Regions from separate parts of the Homo sapiens genome. Here region 2 is linked to region 1. The links are contacts of gene promoters, found by promoter capture Hi-C in blood cells and fetal thymus (Javierre and others, 2016). All regions are on one chromosome and are shown on one strand. The core of a region is centred on a gene start or on the middle of the fragment in contact, and the rest is flanking DNA. Distances in the headings are between cores, read along the strand shown.

Region 1 (7,712 bases), core at 3,523-6,022:
CACTGTGTATACAGAGGGGCAATAGCTCCTCACCTGTCCACTACACACGACCTTTTGTTTTCTCTTCACAATCATTGGGCATAATATAATAGATAAGGCAGAAATTTTTATGCTCACAGAGTATGGATAAGAACATGAAAGTCTATGGTGACACAAACTAACAACACAGCTATAACAACAATCCAAAACTTCTGACTCCTAGTCCATGCTCTTTTCACCAAGACTAAGACTGCAGGGTGGCTAAAAAACCATCTTTAACCATATGAAGATAAATTTTAGGATATGACTGCCATCTTCACAACTTTCAAATGAGGACATCAGGGAAAAGGGATTGTATTAAAGCATTTACCAAACTTATTTGACAAACTAGGAAGAATGTGACATACAACCAATGAAATTCAATTAAGAAGTATTCACTAAAACTATCTAGCACTAGATAAGACTGGGGATACAAAGAAAAGATCCCAATCTTGCCCTCAAGGAGCTCAGATTCCAGCTGTCTGTCCAAGCTTAGCAGGGGCCTACTGGAAGTTAACCTTTATGTCAGAGAATGCCATCAGTCTAGCCAAGAGCACGCCCTCCCAAGTTCCCTCCCCTCTCCCCACTCCTAGTGGTTTCACCCTCAGGGCCCTTCCTCAGAGGTGTGGGCCTCACTGTCACCAAGAATCTGGCTGCTTTTTTAGATCAGGCTTTGCCCGTGTGGAGTCCAAAGTCCTTCCCTAACGAAGTGGAGCCTGAGGGTACAGGGAAGGAGAAAGACTGGGATCTCAGAGACCAGCTGCAAAAGAAGACTTTGCAGCTCCAGGCCAAGGAAAAGGAGGTGAGAGGGTGACCTGAGATAGTGAGGGCTCATTTGCGAAATAGCAGAGAAACCTGGGAGGCAGTCAAAAAGCAGGGATTTCAAAGTTTAAGTTGTGAGTGGATAACCACAGACATTCATTTGCCTACATAAAGTGTCTGTGCTTTTGGGCTGACTTGTCAATCTTTTCCCTTCCTTATTTATACCAACTCCTATTCAAGGTTTTATTAAATGATTACCTTTTAGAAAGTCGACCAAAACTCAAACACATTTAATAAAAATATTAACTTCTCAATATGTCGTCCCACATTGAGTATCTTAAGTCTTTATATGTCTCTTAAAGAGTAAAACTCTTCCTTTGTACATACTCACAAACATACACATCCCCAGAAGTATTGATATGCAACTAGCTCCTGGGAAAGAAACTTGTACTAAGGTCACTTCTAGGTCGTTTGTTCTATAAGAACTTCATTTTTCGGTGTCTCTCATTTGCAAAGCACTTGCACGTAAAGTCATATAAAAGAACTTAAATGTATAAAATGTAATACTATAATATGCATTACTGTCAATCATTTAAATGAACACATTCCAGACAATGTAAGACAGTCAAAAGACAAACTCAAATCCCTGAGAATGGCTGGGAAGGGAAGATGGTGGTAAAAATTCCAAATGAGTGAAACTTACAAAGGGCAGTCTCCCCTGCCTGGGCTCTGTCCTAGACAGAAGTGACAGTGATGACTTTGGTGATGTTCTCCCCAGTGCAGAGAACTGCATTCAGAATTAGACAACCTCAGTGACGAGTATCTCTCCTGCCTGCGTAAGCTGCAGCACTGTCGAGAAGAGCTGAACCAGAGCCAGCAGCTGCCTCCCAGAGTAAGAGGGTCTCTCCTTCCCATAAAGCCCTGGATGATGGGACGATTCCTTCTTTAACCAAGTTTTGCACATAAAATATATCAGCCCACGCCAACAACTGGCCATCCTGTCCCACTGTGCTTGGTTTATACTATACTGACATTATGGCAACCATTGAAAAAAACACTGGCTCGTCCATCAAAGCCCAACTTTCACAGAACTCTCAATGCCAGAAGGAAAGACTTACTCTTAGCTAAAGTATGAAAGGGTGTTCTTTTAGCCGATGATAAGCATGGTGGCAAGAACAGAAGGACACAAAAGTACTGGGGAATACAAAGAAAGAATATAATTTTGCTGGGTTATTTTCCACCCTTCATTATTCATATCAGTATTTATATATCTGGTCCCTGATGGATACGGCTCCCTGGGCCAGAGAACATTGGTTAAGTGGTTTTATCCCAAGACAGGTGACAAAATGGGAGACAGAGTAAAAAGCTTTTTCTCCACCACCAACCCAGCGTTTTCCACTGGGCTAGAGTAGGAAGAAGAAAGATTTTTGCCTATATCTTTTCCAATCCACTCATGGCCACTTTCTTCTGTCTCCCTGTCCCCCTACAGAGGCAATGTGGGCGATGGCTCCCAGTGCTGATGGTGGTGATTGCTGCAGCACTGGCAGTGTTCCTGGCCAATAAAGACAACCTGATGATCTGAATAATTTGTGACAACTGCCTTGGGTGAAAATCAGAAGCAAGCAACTCAGCGAAAAACTCAGAAGGTTTGGGTACATTACAGCTTGGGTTTTCCAACTGACTTAGGATTTCTGACTTTTTATTAATTTCTTAACCTACTGTAAATAAACTTCACCTGACCAGATTGTTCCTCAGAACTCTCAGTTTATTCCTGAATGGTGTATTACATTAACAAGTATCACATATTTAAGCATACTGGTGGTCTACTCTCCTCAAATTCAGTTGGAGGCATATAAACATGCAGAAAAGCCCCCAGCCCTACTTTCCTAGCATGCAGCACCCACATAGAGCAGGTATATTTACAAGGTTACCATGCAAGAGTGTTTGGCTTGTCTTCCATCACCCTGCTTTTCCTCTATCATCTCCTTCCTTCTATCTTTTATCCAGTGAAAATGAAAACATCTCCACTAAGAGGACTTCCTAGTATAGAAATGGCAAGTATGTACTATCTACCAATTTGCTACTAGCACCACCATTACCTATTTACATGCCCTTTGCATTTGTGGCCAACTGATCTACAGCATTGTGCCTTAGTGTATTCAAGACACTTGGAATTGGCAGTTGAGATGATTATTTGCCATCCCCAACCTAGAGATGATCATTTACTGAGTACCTTCTATATGGGAGGAGAGTTAAAGTCAGAGGGCCACAGCCGGCAGTGTGACTATCTCAGAGGAGATGCTGAGATCAGCAAAGTCATTCTGAGTCCTAAATCGGGTTCTGAGGTCCTTCTCCCAGGTGTTTAGAATGTCCCTCAGGCCTGGGAACAAACTCTCTGGGACACTAAAAGAATAGAGCAGGATTGGGGGTTGACCTAGCAACCATGAGATCCGGGCAGTGAATACTCGTAGTGGAGTCAGAGCTAAGCAGTTGTCATCTCCCTGGTTCAGGTGAAAGGTATAGGGAACAGGATAGCCCAGGAGGATCCCAAATACAGTACACAGATTCCAGTCTGAGGAATGGAGCCTGCTGTAGGAGACTGCTAGAGATAAGTCCCTCTGCAGCCCCTGCAAATGTGTGATGATCTCAGCCACGAGGGCCTTCAAGTCCTGAAGCTGGTCCAGGGAGCAGACAGAAGGGTGACGCTGGCAGCTGGAAACATCCACAAAGGCTATGGTACCAAGCAGCACCTGCTCCAAGTGCTGACATACATGCTCAGGACTGACAATCAGGCTGTTTTCTCCAATCTCAAGGATGTGAAGTCCAAAAGTCAGGAAGCCAAGCCCCTTCAGCTCCTCCAGATAGCTCTGGAGCTCTGATGCCCCTGCACAGTTGCAATCATAGAGCACAGCTGGCTTCAGTCCCCGGGCCACAGCCAGCACCTCTCCAGCTAAGTGAAGGCAGATGGCTTGGGGTGGACTCCGTCTCTTTCCCATGCCAAGGGTCTGCTGAGCAGCTGCCACCAGCAGCTGAGGGCTCGGTGATGACATGAGATCTAGAAGCAACATCAAGAATGGCCTCCTTAGCTAGCCCGAGTTCCCTTCCCTGGGTGGCATCTTTCAGCCAGACACTTGAGGAGGGGCCTAGAAACAAAGCAGGAGCAGGGAATTATTAACAGCCTTCCTGTTAAATCGCGGTATCTTCCAAAGGTTATTCTGTCCCTCCCTGCTTTGAAATGGCGACCCAGCCCAGACAAGATAGTTTCACCGATGCTGCTTGATTTTTCTGGTTGACTTGGTCTCCCTCAATCATAAATTCGTGTGTTTTTCTAGCCTTATAGCTAGATTTATATTCCCTCTGGCTTTTATTCTAAATTTCACCTGTTGCAAATTACGTTCTCTGGTTCAAACCGTAGGGAATTTGGGGCAGAGGCGGAGGCGGGGCAGTGTTTGGCAAAATTCACAGCATTTCGCCCAAAAGCCCTTCTGGGACAGAGCTCCAAGTTCCAAATGTATCCTTTCCACTGACAACTCCCCTACTCTTCCCGCCAGAGAATAGTTATAAGAATAGTAATTTGATTAATATACACCAGAATGTGGACTAACAACCATCTCACCCTGACACATAAAAATGAATGAATGAAATCCACTAGAACTGCAGAAGGGTAGTATTTTAACTTCTGCTGGCCCCGCCTTCCCTTTCTGTCCGACATCAAGGACCCTCGGAAGATGAGATTTCTCCGATCCACACACCCCACACCAGAGCATGTTATAGTGATTTGCTAAATGAGGCATAAGTCTGTCTCACATACGTTCTTTTTCCACGTCCGCTACAGGTTCGGGGGCTCAGAAACTTTTTGCGGCTTCCTGCCTGCTGCCAGAAAGGCAGCTAGTCCCCCACGCCCAGCCGCAAGTAACACTGGAAAACCCGCCTGCGCTGGGAAGACCCTCGCAGCCCGCTCTGCTCCAGTCCCGCAGGCACCTTCTTGCGCATGCGCACCCACTCGAGTGCCGCCCTCTTTCCCCCCATTCCGTGACGTCATCCAGCCGCTCGCGCGCCTCGCGTTAGAATCACTAGCTAGGCAGCCTTACTGCGCGCCGGAAGTTTGGGCCACCGTGCGGCCCGCCCTTTCCGGCCAGACTGAACGCGGCCCCATCTGTCGGCTTAGGAACTGGGAAGGGCGGAAGTAAACGAGAAAAGGCGGAACCTGGTGAAACTGGTTTCCCGCTGCTGCCCTCATTTTGCTTCGCCGAACGTCCTCCCTGTGTTATGACGTCTGGTGTCCCACTTGACTGGGAATCCAGAAACAGGGCACACAGCAGTTAATAAACACCTTTGATTTGTGTCTGTGGAAATACGTTTTGTCCAGACGAAACATACCTCAAGACAACATATTTTGCAGAATAGCCTCACCTGTGGGTGGTGCTGAAACGTTTTAATTTTTTTTAACTTGACTTCCCTAAATCCTACATTTGAGAGGCCTACAACAGCTCTCTAGGGAGGGTGTGAAGGTGTGAGTATTCACTTTGAACAAATATGTGCCAGTCATGCTGCTAGGCCCTGGAGGTACTGCAGTGAGCAAAACAGACAAAACCCCCACTTTCATGGGGCTTAAGTTCATGTCTACTGAATCCAGTTTGCTGATTTCAAATAAGAAATGAGAAGTGATGACACAGAGGCTTTCCAGTCAGGTCATTACAAAGAAAAAGTGTTATTTCACGTAAGAGTTAACACCTTTTTAACTACCAGCGATTTGACCCATGCCACGAAGGGAAAGGATTTCTTGAGAAAACCCCAATATCTAAGGAAATGGCCCCAATTTATTTATACTTGGAGCAGGACAGAGATTAAGGGAACAGTGGACACCTACACTGGAGTTGTCACTCCTGGATCTATCTTGGTGGTGCCTTCAGTCCATGAAAAGTGAATTGTACAGTAAAGATGGGGTCAGCATGGGAGGAGGACCAGCTTATAGGAGTTACCAGCCTAAGGCTGTCTGGTTCTTAGCTCAGAGGGAATCAGAAGCTGAGAGTAGAAAGTAGTCTTCTAATTTTAGAACGTTTTCCTTCCCCGCATTTATTTAATTTTCCCATGGTGGTTAACAGTAAATCCCTAAAAGACTGATTTAGTTCATTCATTTATTCCAGCAACAAATATTTGAGAACACACTGTGTCCCAGACACTGTTCTAAGGACTGGCAGCGAAGTCCAAGACAAACAGTCCCTACCTTCAGCAAGTTTGCAGTCAAGCAGGATGCGGATGCTGAGCATTACAAGGGAAATGATTATTCTGAGAGAGGAAGTATGGGGTGCTATGGGAACATACAACCAGGGACCTAATTTTATGGGAAAGGGACCAGCCCAGATCCAACACTTGCTCTCCCAGTTTACCTCCAGTAGGTTCTTTTTAACTTGAACTAATCTTGTTTGGTGGGGTACACAGTGAGGAAAAAGAAGAGCTAGTGACAAAATCTAACTCCCTTCTCAGTCTTAAGCAAGGTGAAGGCAAGGGAGTAGAAGATATCAAGGGAGTGAGTGGTGGTAGCCACCAAAGGAGATAGCAGACTGAGGCCCTAAAAAAAGAAAGGAAATCTAAATCTATCCAGCAGGACCAGAGAAAGAGTGCTGAGGGTGATTAGATGGAATCCCTGCATGTACTCTCCCGGCATTCTGAAAAGAAGCCAAAACAAGGAAGAAACCGGGGTATCTAGTTAAGACCTCACAAATCACTCATCCATTCCTCTGACATGTTCATAAACTTTTTATAGTGGTTACGAACCAAAAGCTTGGCATTTCTTGGCACTTTTCCAATACCCTTTACCAGCTCACATTATCTGGGCTCCCACCCAGGCTACAGATAGCCTGGCTGTTAGCACTTCACAGAAGGGATATAGACTGGCCCAGATTCAAGAGCTGCCCTTCTAATTTACCTACAGTGGGTTTTTAACTTTGAGTTCCCACGTAGAGATGGGGCAGCCAAATATCAAGCCCAAATCCCTCACTTCACCTACTCAACAAAATGACCCCCAAAATGTAAAGTTTCTGTGCCTTTAATGCTTCCCGGTCCCTAAAAGCCCAACTTTTCCTCGAAGCTGGGCACCTGACCTTTAGCCAGGTTTCTTAATCTTTTCATGCTTTTCATAATAGCAAATTCCACTAGGTCTCTTAGAAACTCTAAAACCAAGGCTTAAGCACTTTAAATAAATAAGTCCTCATGTCACCACTGATTTTGAACTTTTAGTTTTTAAAATAAGGCTAGCTCAACTTTTGAGTCATTTTGAAAAGTTGGAGATGGCCTGGTTTAAAGGTACCAGACTAGACATGGGCTTCCTTACTATGTCCCGACACAGACAGATAGGCATCACTATTCAAGAGGACTGGGGCTTGCAACCACAGATTAGCATCTTATTTGCCATTTAGGTCCCAGATTGCTTGAGCCCAGGAGTTCAAGACCAGCCTGGGCAACATAGCAAGACCTCATCTCTACAAAAATAAAAAAAAAATTAGCCAAGCATCATAGTGCACGACTGTTGTCCCAACTACTCAGGAGGCTGGGGCAGGACGATTGCTTGAGCCCAGGAGCTTAAAGCTGCAGTAAGTGGTGACTTGCCACTGCACTCCAGCCTGGGCAACAAAGCAAGACTCTGTCTCAAAAAAGAAGAGAAAGCTGAAAGGGTTAGAGACTCAGCAGATGTTTCTAGATAAGACCAGTTTGTGACAGATACAGCTGCATTGTTCTATACCACTCTTTACCTTCACTGTTCACACTCAGATACCTCCACTAGTAAGGGAGACAAGCAGGTTCGTGCTAGGTGAGCCTTTCCAGAAGAGTACTGCCCAGCCCTTCTTCATCCCAGCCTTAACACACTCAACAACCCATTTCTTCCAACTGCAAAAAATCTAAATGATACTGTCCCTTTTGTAGTCAGAGAA
Region 2 (7,712 bases), core at 3,725-6,224, 560 kb after region 1:
AGTAGTGGGTATATATTTTAAACTATTCTGTAATTAGACTTTTTTCCCCACTCCAGTGCACCTCTTCCAGTCTATCTAGTCATTCTTCTGTGTTGGTGAAACCTTTCTGGGTTTGGAGAAGTGTTTCCTCTTAGTATTATGTGGGTTGAAGAATAAGTCTTTGTAAGACTCTTAAATGGGGACTGGGCACAGTGGCCCACACCTGTAATTCCAGCAGTTTGGGAGGCTGCGGCGGGAGGATCACTCGAGGCCAGGAGTTCAAGACCAGCCTGGGCAACATGGCAAAACCCAGTCTCTACTAAAAACACAAAAATTAGTGGGGCAGCACACTCCGGCCTGGGGGATAGAGCAAGACTCTGTCTCAGAAAAAAAAAAAAAAAAAAAAAAAAAAGACTCAAGTGGGGTTTGGAGAGAATTGTGATATGGGAATCTGGACTTGGTGGTTTTCTTGGAGAAAATCATGTAATTTAGAGTCTACAAAATGGGATTCAGTTTCATGAAAATTGGACCCTGGAAAAGGCAAAAGTCTCATACCACTTTTTCCGAATATGCTAGAATATTGCACTACTATTTCATTTTCTTTAAAGCCGTTGTCATTTCAGTGGGCATGTGCTTCTTTCACTTTTATTGCTTGTGGTTTCCAGAGTGCTCATTTGTTCCTGAATTTAGAGCTATTTCAATTTTACTCTTATCTCTGCATAACTGCTGACTTTCCCCTCTTATTTCCAAGGTAAATCGGTTAGGTTTAGTTTGCCTTTTTCAGTAAATCTTTTAAGGAATGTATGTGAGTTAGATATTTCATGTGTATTTTGATTACATTTTATTGATTTAAATTTTTTTATCAGAGAGTGTCTAACGTTATGCATAACGTTTAAAAATTCTATTACATTTAGACCACTTATATTCTAGCTTTCCTAATGGATTGATTTCATTATAGATTTTGGAAAAAATGAGTCCAGTACACTCTGTAAGAATAGTGAGGTGGCTGAGGGAAGGCTCTGGAGTTAGACTTACTGGGTATGAATCTAAGCTTTGCTGCTTACCAGCTGTGTGATTTGGGGCGGGTTTACTTATCCTTTCTGGGCCTTGGTTTCCTCTTGTGTTAAGTGAGGTTATCAGAAGCACCAACCTCAAAGGTTTGTTATGAAGATTAAGTGAGATAATACTTGTAAAGTGCCTTTTCAGCATAGGAAATCTGTAAATAGTACTTGTTATAGTACAGCTATTACTAAAGCATAAGAAAACTCAGTAGAGGGAAATCTTCATTTAGGACATTAAGCAGTGAGTCAGTAGAAGTGACGATGGTGATGCTGGTATGGAGGGATTGTTAGCTTAATGATGAGAGCTGTCTTGTTAAAGTTCTCTGGTGCATGTGAGTATTGGGTTATAGCCCATTTAGTGCTTGATATCAAGATTTAAAAGCAGAAAAAATTTAAAATGGAAGTGTTGGAATCCATTAGTTGCCTGCATCAGAAGTAAAGCTAAAGTATTTTTGAAATGATATTGGAAGTTGCTGGGGGAAAAGCATCTTGCAGCCGTTATGTTTATGTATGTTTCAGGCTTTGGCAAGGTGTGCTGTACTTTTCTTCCAAGATCAAGGAACAGGATTTCTGCCTGTATGACAGTGGGGGTTGGGAATTTTGGTTCTAATTTTTGCTCCATTGCTGGCTTCTCTGTCCGTGGGTAGATCGCTGCTTCTTCCTGAGCAGGATTCTGATTCCTGAAAGGGACCTAAAAACTTAGCCCTCCTGAGAGGATCCGAGTAGATGGCATCTTTGAAAGCAGGTGGAGTGTTAAATTCCAAAGTAAATGCAAATGCAAGTGGCTCCAGTATAGAAAAAGTTCTGTGAGCTGAGAGATTCTTGCCATTTTACAGCTAAGATTTTATTCTGTGGCCCTCTTGAGTTCTATAATTCCCAGATAAATATATTTTTTGAAATATTCAACCTTGGGGTGTTTGTACCCAATTTGGAGGTGGAGAAAGCTCCCTATTCCTCCAGTCTGAATTCCTTCCCTCTGATTCCAGGGAAAACTTTGCTATGATTTCCTTTAACATCTAGTATTAAATGCACGTTCTACCGCTTTGTCCTCACTTGCCTCAAAATTCTCACTCTTTTCAACAACATTTAGCTTCAAGATCCTGTTGTCTTACAGCTTTGGAGTTGCTGTTTTATCTTCTTCATCTTCCTCTTTTTTCCCCCTACCAGCTTCTGGACTATTTTGATGCCAAGGACAACTCAATTTTTCCCCATCTGTGTGGCTTGGTTCCAGCACTCTCTCCACTTTCACTAAGGGCCTAAATCATCAACCTCCCTGCCTCTTGGGTCTACCACAGCATCAAGGGGCTGCTTTGTAGAGCTTCATTCAAATAATTTTATGTACTGGCTTGCAAGCCTGAGGTTTCTGCAGGAAATAAAATTTAAACATGAAATCGTATGTTTTAAGACTCCTTACCACTTGGCTCCTGTTCTCCCTTCCCTGAACCATCCACACTTTATCTTCTTTACAGTTCCGACCAGTATTCCCACACTGGGGAAGTGTTCTTAGACACATCTCACCATCACACATCCCTACAACCCTCCTTCACTATTACATATCAATAGTGCAATCTCATTTGTGTAGATTAATCAGGTAGACTGCTACTTAAACACAGGCTGTGTCCCTATAGATTGGCCGTTTTCTATAGAAATGATGCTGTAAGTGGTGATGACTTTTCTAGGCTATCTCACAGCTACCCACTTAGCTGATAATGTTGGTGCAGGACTGACTGCATGAAAACAGAAAAGAAACATCACTTACACATTTGAGTAAGAACCTCCTTGATTTCAGCCTGATTGCTCTGCCTAAAGAGGGACATGCTTGTTTAGAGTATGAGAAATGGAAACTTGGTAATTTTGTGAGAGAGTTTTTGGGAACCTCTAAGGGCCTGGACATTTTAAAAAGGTTCCAGTTATATTCCCAAATATATAGTTTTCCTTTTCTTTTACATTGTGTCATAAATCCCTTAAGACATATCTACTCTGATTTACTTTCTGGCTGCACAGCTGAAATAAACAGGGAAAACAAAGTAGGGAAATAATTTTCCTAAGATAAGTGGGCGAGTGTTGAAGGCCGAAAGAATGAGGGTCGTGATCAACTCAGTATACCACTGGAGACTATATGAGTAAACAGCAAACTGTTTCTCATGAAAGCAGGTTGTTGGCAAACTGACAAACTGTGTCTGCCTCCCAGAAAGAATGCTGGGGGGCAGTCACCACCCAGGCACAGTGTTTCTTGTGATTAGGCAAATCTGAAGCCTGTTAGCAATAACGTGAACCTGTGATCAATCAAGCAGCTGACCAGTCATTACCTCCTCCTCCCTGCTCTTTCTGCCCAATAAAAACAAAGGGCTGTAGAAGCTCGAGGTTGCTGCCTTTGCTCCCTAGAAGCAGGGAGCTCTCTTCTTCCCCTGGCCCCTTCCTTTAAAATAGTTACTTTTAAGTTTTCATTTCTGCCTTCGTCCTCCTTCCTTCAGTCTCCTAATGACTGTCTCAAGTAGTAACAGTAGTGACTGTCGTAGTGACAGTCTCAAATAGTAACCATTGCAGTCAGCTACAGGCAAGAGTTGAAAAGAGAGTGTGTGAGGAAGAAAGCTCTGTTAAGGAGGATGGGTGAGTGTCTGTGTGGTGGTGGTGTTTCGAGGTGGCATTCGTGTAATGGAGAGGTGAAAATGAAAGTGGAAAGTACTGCCTGTCATTCCCTTGGGAGTAGCAGAGACGTAGGTGGTGAGGAAGAGGCACCGGGCTGAAAGCCTGCGGGTGGTCCCCGGGGATAGTTTGCTTGCTGTCCAGGGTGGCTTTGGATTGGGCGTCAGAAGAGGAATGAGACATTAACGAAATCCCTGGGGATGCCAACTTCCTGAAAGAGGTCCAGATGCACGTAGGATGGGCATACCCCAGGAAGTTCAGCCAGATTTCTTTGATTCAGGGAGAAAATCAGGGTCAGGGCTTAGGTAGGCTCCTGATGAGTGAAATTCACTAACTAGTAACTACTAATGTTTGTTGAGTGCTTATTCACTGCCAGGCCCTGGGCTAAGCATTTTACATTTAACCCCTTCAACAACCCTATAAGAAAACATCTGGGAGGCCGTTATCTACCCGTTTCCTTAACCAATAAATGACACAGCCTGGGACTCTCCCTGCACCAGCCCACCCCTCCTCCCTGAACCCCACAGGTGGGTTTGGTGCCAGAATGTATCACTGTGCTGTCAAGTGGAGACTATTTGGTTCAATTCCTAAATTTTGGGGGTGAGGGGACAGCTAGTTTCCCTGCTTAGTTACCTGGTGTTTTGCCGCTAGTTACTATGTATCTCTGTGTATTTGTCTACAAAACATAGAGCATTGTTGAAACTATGTTATTGTTTCATTGAAACAATGTTATTGTTTCCTTATACCACTGAGTAGAAGAAAATGGAGTTTCTGCTGGGGCCACTGTCTGTGGAGTTTGCACATTCTCGCTATGTCTGCAGGGGTTTTCTCTGGGTACTTGGTTTCCTCCCACATCCCACAGCTGTGCCCATTAGGTGAATTGGTGTGTCTAAATGGTCCCAGTGTGTGAATGTAACTGAGTGTCCTATTAAGTTTTTCTGTGATGGCATCAAATGCCTGTTGATGCTCATCTGTCCAAGGCAGGGGGCTCTGAATCTAGTCCCTTTTAAAGGCCTCATAAAGTGGCTTAGCCATCAACCCCAAATTTGGAATTCAAATTCAACAAAAGCCAGACATTCCTAGAAATCCCTGCAATTGCCTCCCGTTTTGGGGAGCCTTTGGGGCCACTGTTATCTGCTTTCAGTAGGGTCTTTAGGCTCCTTCAGCCTGAAGTCGAGGTTCCAGAGACTAGACCTTGAAATAGTACAGGCACCTGTGAAAATCTCCCCTACCAGGAGATGGCTTTGAGGGTACAGTTAATTTACAACCCAGCTGAGCCCCAGATGTTGCCAGCCCGTTCACAAGATGGAGCAACAATTCAAGACGAGTCATCGGAACAAGTCATGCCGGCATCGGAACAAGTCATGCCGGCCTGCACTGCCTCACCCCATGCCGCAACTTGCTTCCCCTTCTTAAACCTTTGCACTTTGCTTGGAAATTTGAAGTGGTTCCATTAAGGCAAGAGTCTAGACCGTCTTCCCCATGGCTAGCTTTGGTCTGTAATAAAGTCACTTTCTTTCTGCCATACCTCTATCTTGCTAATTTGTTTTGCAAGTGGTGAGCAGCTGAACCTGTGTTTGGTAACGAGTGTGGGGGAGTGAGTATGAGTGGGTTCTGCGCTGGGATGGCATCCTGTCCAGGGCTGGTTCCTGCTTTGCATCCTGAGCTGCTGGAATGGGCTCAGCTACCAGAGACCCTAAATTGGAACAAGTGGGGTGGAAAATGAATGAATGAATACAAATTAATAAAAATTTGTAAAGTCTATGATAATCATACAAATGCATGACAAAAAAAATGTAGTATGAAAGCGCTCAGTGAGCCCACCCTAATTGTAAATGTTTTGAACTGCATGGTGGCAGGAGGTGCTCCTTATAATTTTTGCTTTGCAAACATTTTATTCCTTGGTTTAACCGACCACCATCACAACTGCCATCACTTGCTGATTCACCAAACTTGGGTAAATAATGATCTTACCTGTGCTTATTAATCTTTAAGTGTATGTGTATAGCTCTTGTTTATTTCAGTGTTTACTATTAGAAGTGTTTTGGTCTTTATTTAGATGTATGATGTTTTTGTGACCAGAAATATGCAGTAGGAACTTACTTTTTGCTTATATCAATTAGCCTATTGTAAAATTAGTAGCATTATACATTGTTTTGTTTAAAGTTACAATTTCCAAGACCCTACTGGTGATGTTCAGTAAGGACTCACTGTACAATCCAGCTAAGAGCAGCACTAAGCTGGGTGCAGTGGCTCACGCCTGTAATCCTAGCACTTTGGGAGGCCACGGTGGGCGGATCTCCTGAGCTTAGGAGTTTGAGACCAACCTGGGCAACAACAACAATAAAAAACTAGCCTGGCATTGTGGTGCATGCCTGTAATCCCAGCTACTCAGGAGGCTGAGGCAGGAGAATTGCTTGAGCCTGGGAAGTTGAGGCTGCAGCGAGCTGAGATCATGCCACTGCACTCCTGCTTGGGCAACAGAGCAAGACCCTGTCTCCAGGAAGAAAAAAAAAAAAAAAGCAGCACCAAAATGAAAAATTATTAAACCGAATTTTCTAGTTCCCTGAGGATTAAATCCTTAATGCAGGAGGATTGTCTCAGATAGAATGTCCCTGAAAAGCATCTAATGGCAGGCCTTCTAAAACTTTCATTCAGTCTACAAGATCATTTGTGTTCAAATTTCAGTCGCCCAATTAGGAGATCAGCTTTTTGCTAATCAGATTCTTCATGAGGCAAAGAGGTCATCCGATGTAATACCAACATCTTTTGACAGGCGAGACATTAAATTATAAGCCAAGAAGTTAAAATTACCTTCCCACTAAAGGGAAGACTACCAAATTCCTGAAAAGTTCCAGAAAGGAGTCTTGTTATTCTAAAGATGAAAGTATTTAAAAATAAATTGTGAATAGAAATGGATAAAGCTAGAAGCAGTTCTGAAAAATAGTAAGGAACTTGAGAAAGTGTTGTTGAAATACTAGGGCTTAGGCTTGTGTTTTAAAGCATGAATGATTGCTTCTGGATCTCTTAGGTTGCAGGAAAAGTCCAGACCAAACTTTCTGGGTGACTTTTAGGTAACGAAATGGGGCACTCTGGGTGCAAGACTGCTTATTTCTGAAATCGTGGTTTATCAAGGCTGAAGTTTATTTCCCTTCCTGCTCTGTCTCCCAGTGGTCTGAAGAAAGGAGTTTGTGTGTGCGGCAGATTCTAAGCCAGGCTCTAAGTCTGAGTAACTGTACACTGGCATTAATGGGATTGGCCATGGCAGAGTGGAGGGGCAGGGGCCTGGGTCCAAAGACTTGGCTTTGAGCCTTGGCTCAGTTATTTACTTATTTGTTTACTCACATATTTAGACAAAAATTGTACATATTTATGGTGTACAATGTGATGTCTAGCTATACATTGTGAGATGATTAAATCAAGGTAATTAACATACCCATCACCTTACCTGCTTATCATTTTATGGTGAGAACATTTAAGATCTACTCTTAGCACTTTTCAAGAATATAATACATTATTGTTAACTATAATCACCATGCTGTATAATAGATCCTCAGAATTTATTCATCCTGTCCAACATCTTTTAACCAACATCTTCCCCACTTCCCCCGCCCCAGCCCCTGGCAACCACTTCTGTGAGTTTGACTTTTTTTAGGTTTCACATATAAGTGAGATCATGCAGTATTTGCTTTTTTGCTCTGGCTCAGTTATTTCTGGCTCTGTGACCTCATCACATTTGTCATCTATAAAATGCCTACCTCCCCTGTTCCACTTCCACCTACTTCACCAGGCTGTTGTGAAAACAAAATGAGATAATGTGTGAATTCTGGGGTTTGGCATGACTGTCACATGTTAGAAGTACTTGGTGGGGTTGGTGGGAGGTGCTGCTTAAAATTTTGCTCTTATTTTGGCATCCACAATGAGACATACTTGAGAGGTTTAAATAAAGCAGTAAAGGCCATAAATGCGTTTAAATTTAGTGAACTCTTTGTTACTTGGAACATTTGGAATCATTTAATTTGCTGA

The links. Contacts are between HindIII fragments. The CHiCAGO score rates a contact against its expected background, and 5 or more counts as called.
Region 2: a fragment that was not itself captured here is called in contact with the fragment with the promoter of C1orf74 in region 1 in 1 of 17 cell types (activated CD4 T cells); the score reaches 5.7 in activated CD4 T cells.

The regions. Positions count from the first base shown.
Region 1 is chr1:209,779,787-209,787,498 of GRCh38, forward strand. C1orf74 (chromosome 1 open reading frame 74) reads right to left here and starts at 4,773. Exons shown (of 2, transcript NM_152485.4): 1 at 4,592-4,773; 2 at 1-3,923. The coding sequence starts at 3,848. The coding sequence ends at 3,039. IRF6 (interferon regulatory factor 6) reads right to left here. Exons shown (of 9, transcript NM_006147.4): 9 at 5,831-7,712. TRAF3IP3 (TRAF3 interacting protein 3) reads left to right here. Exons shown (of 17, transcript NM_025228.4): 15 at 684-820; 16 at 1,559-1,672; 17 at 2,270-2,524. The coding sequence ends at 2,362. RefSeq lists enhancers at 4,478-5,095, 4,652-4,911, 5,096-5,711. The HindIII fragment of the contact is 4,418 bases long and covers 2,145-6,562 here.
Region 2 is chr1:210,339,878-210,347,589 of GRCh38, forward strand. All of the region lies in intron 1 of HHAT (hedgehog acyltransferase), which reads left to right. Among named protein-coding and RNA genes, the nearest start is that of HHAT, 15 kb to the left of the region's middle. The HindIII fragment of the contact is 7,893 bases long and covers 1,029-7,712 here.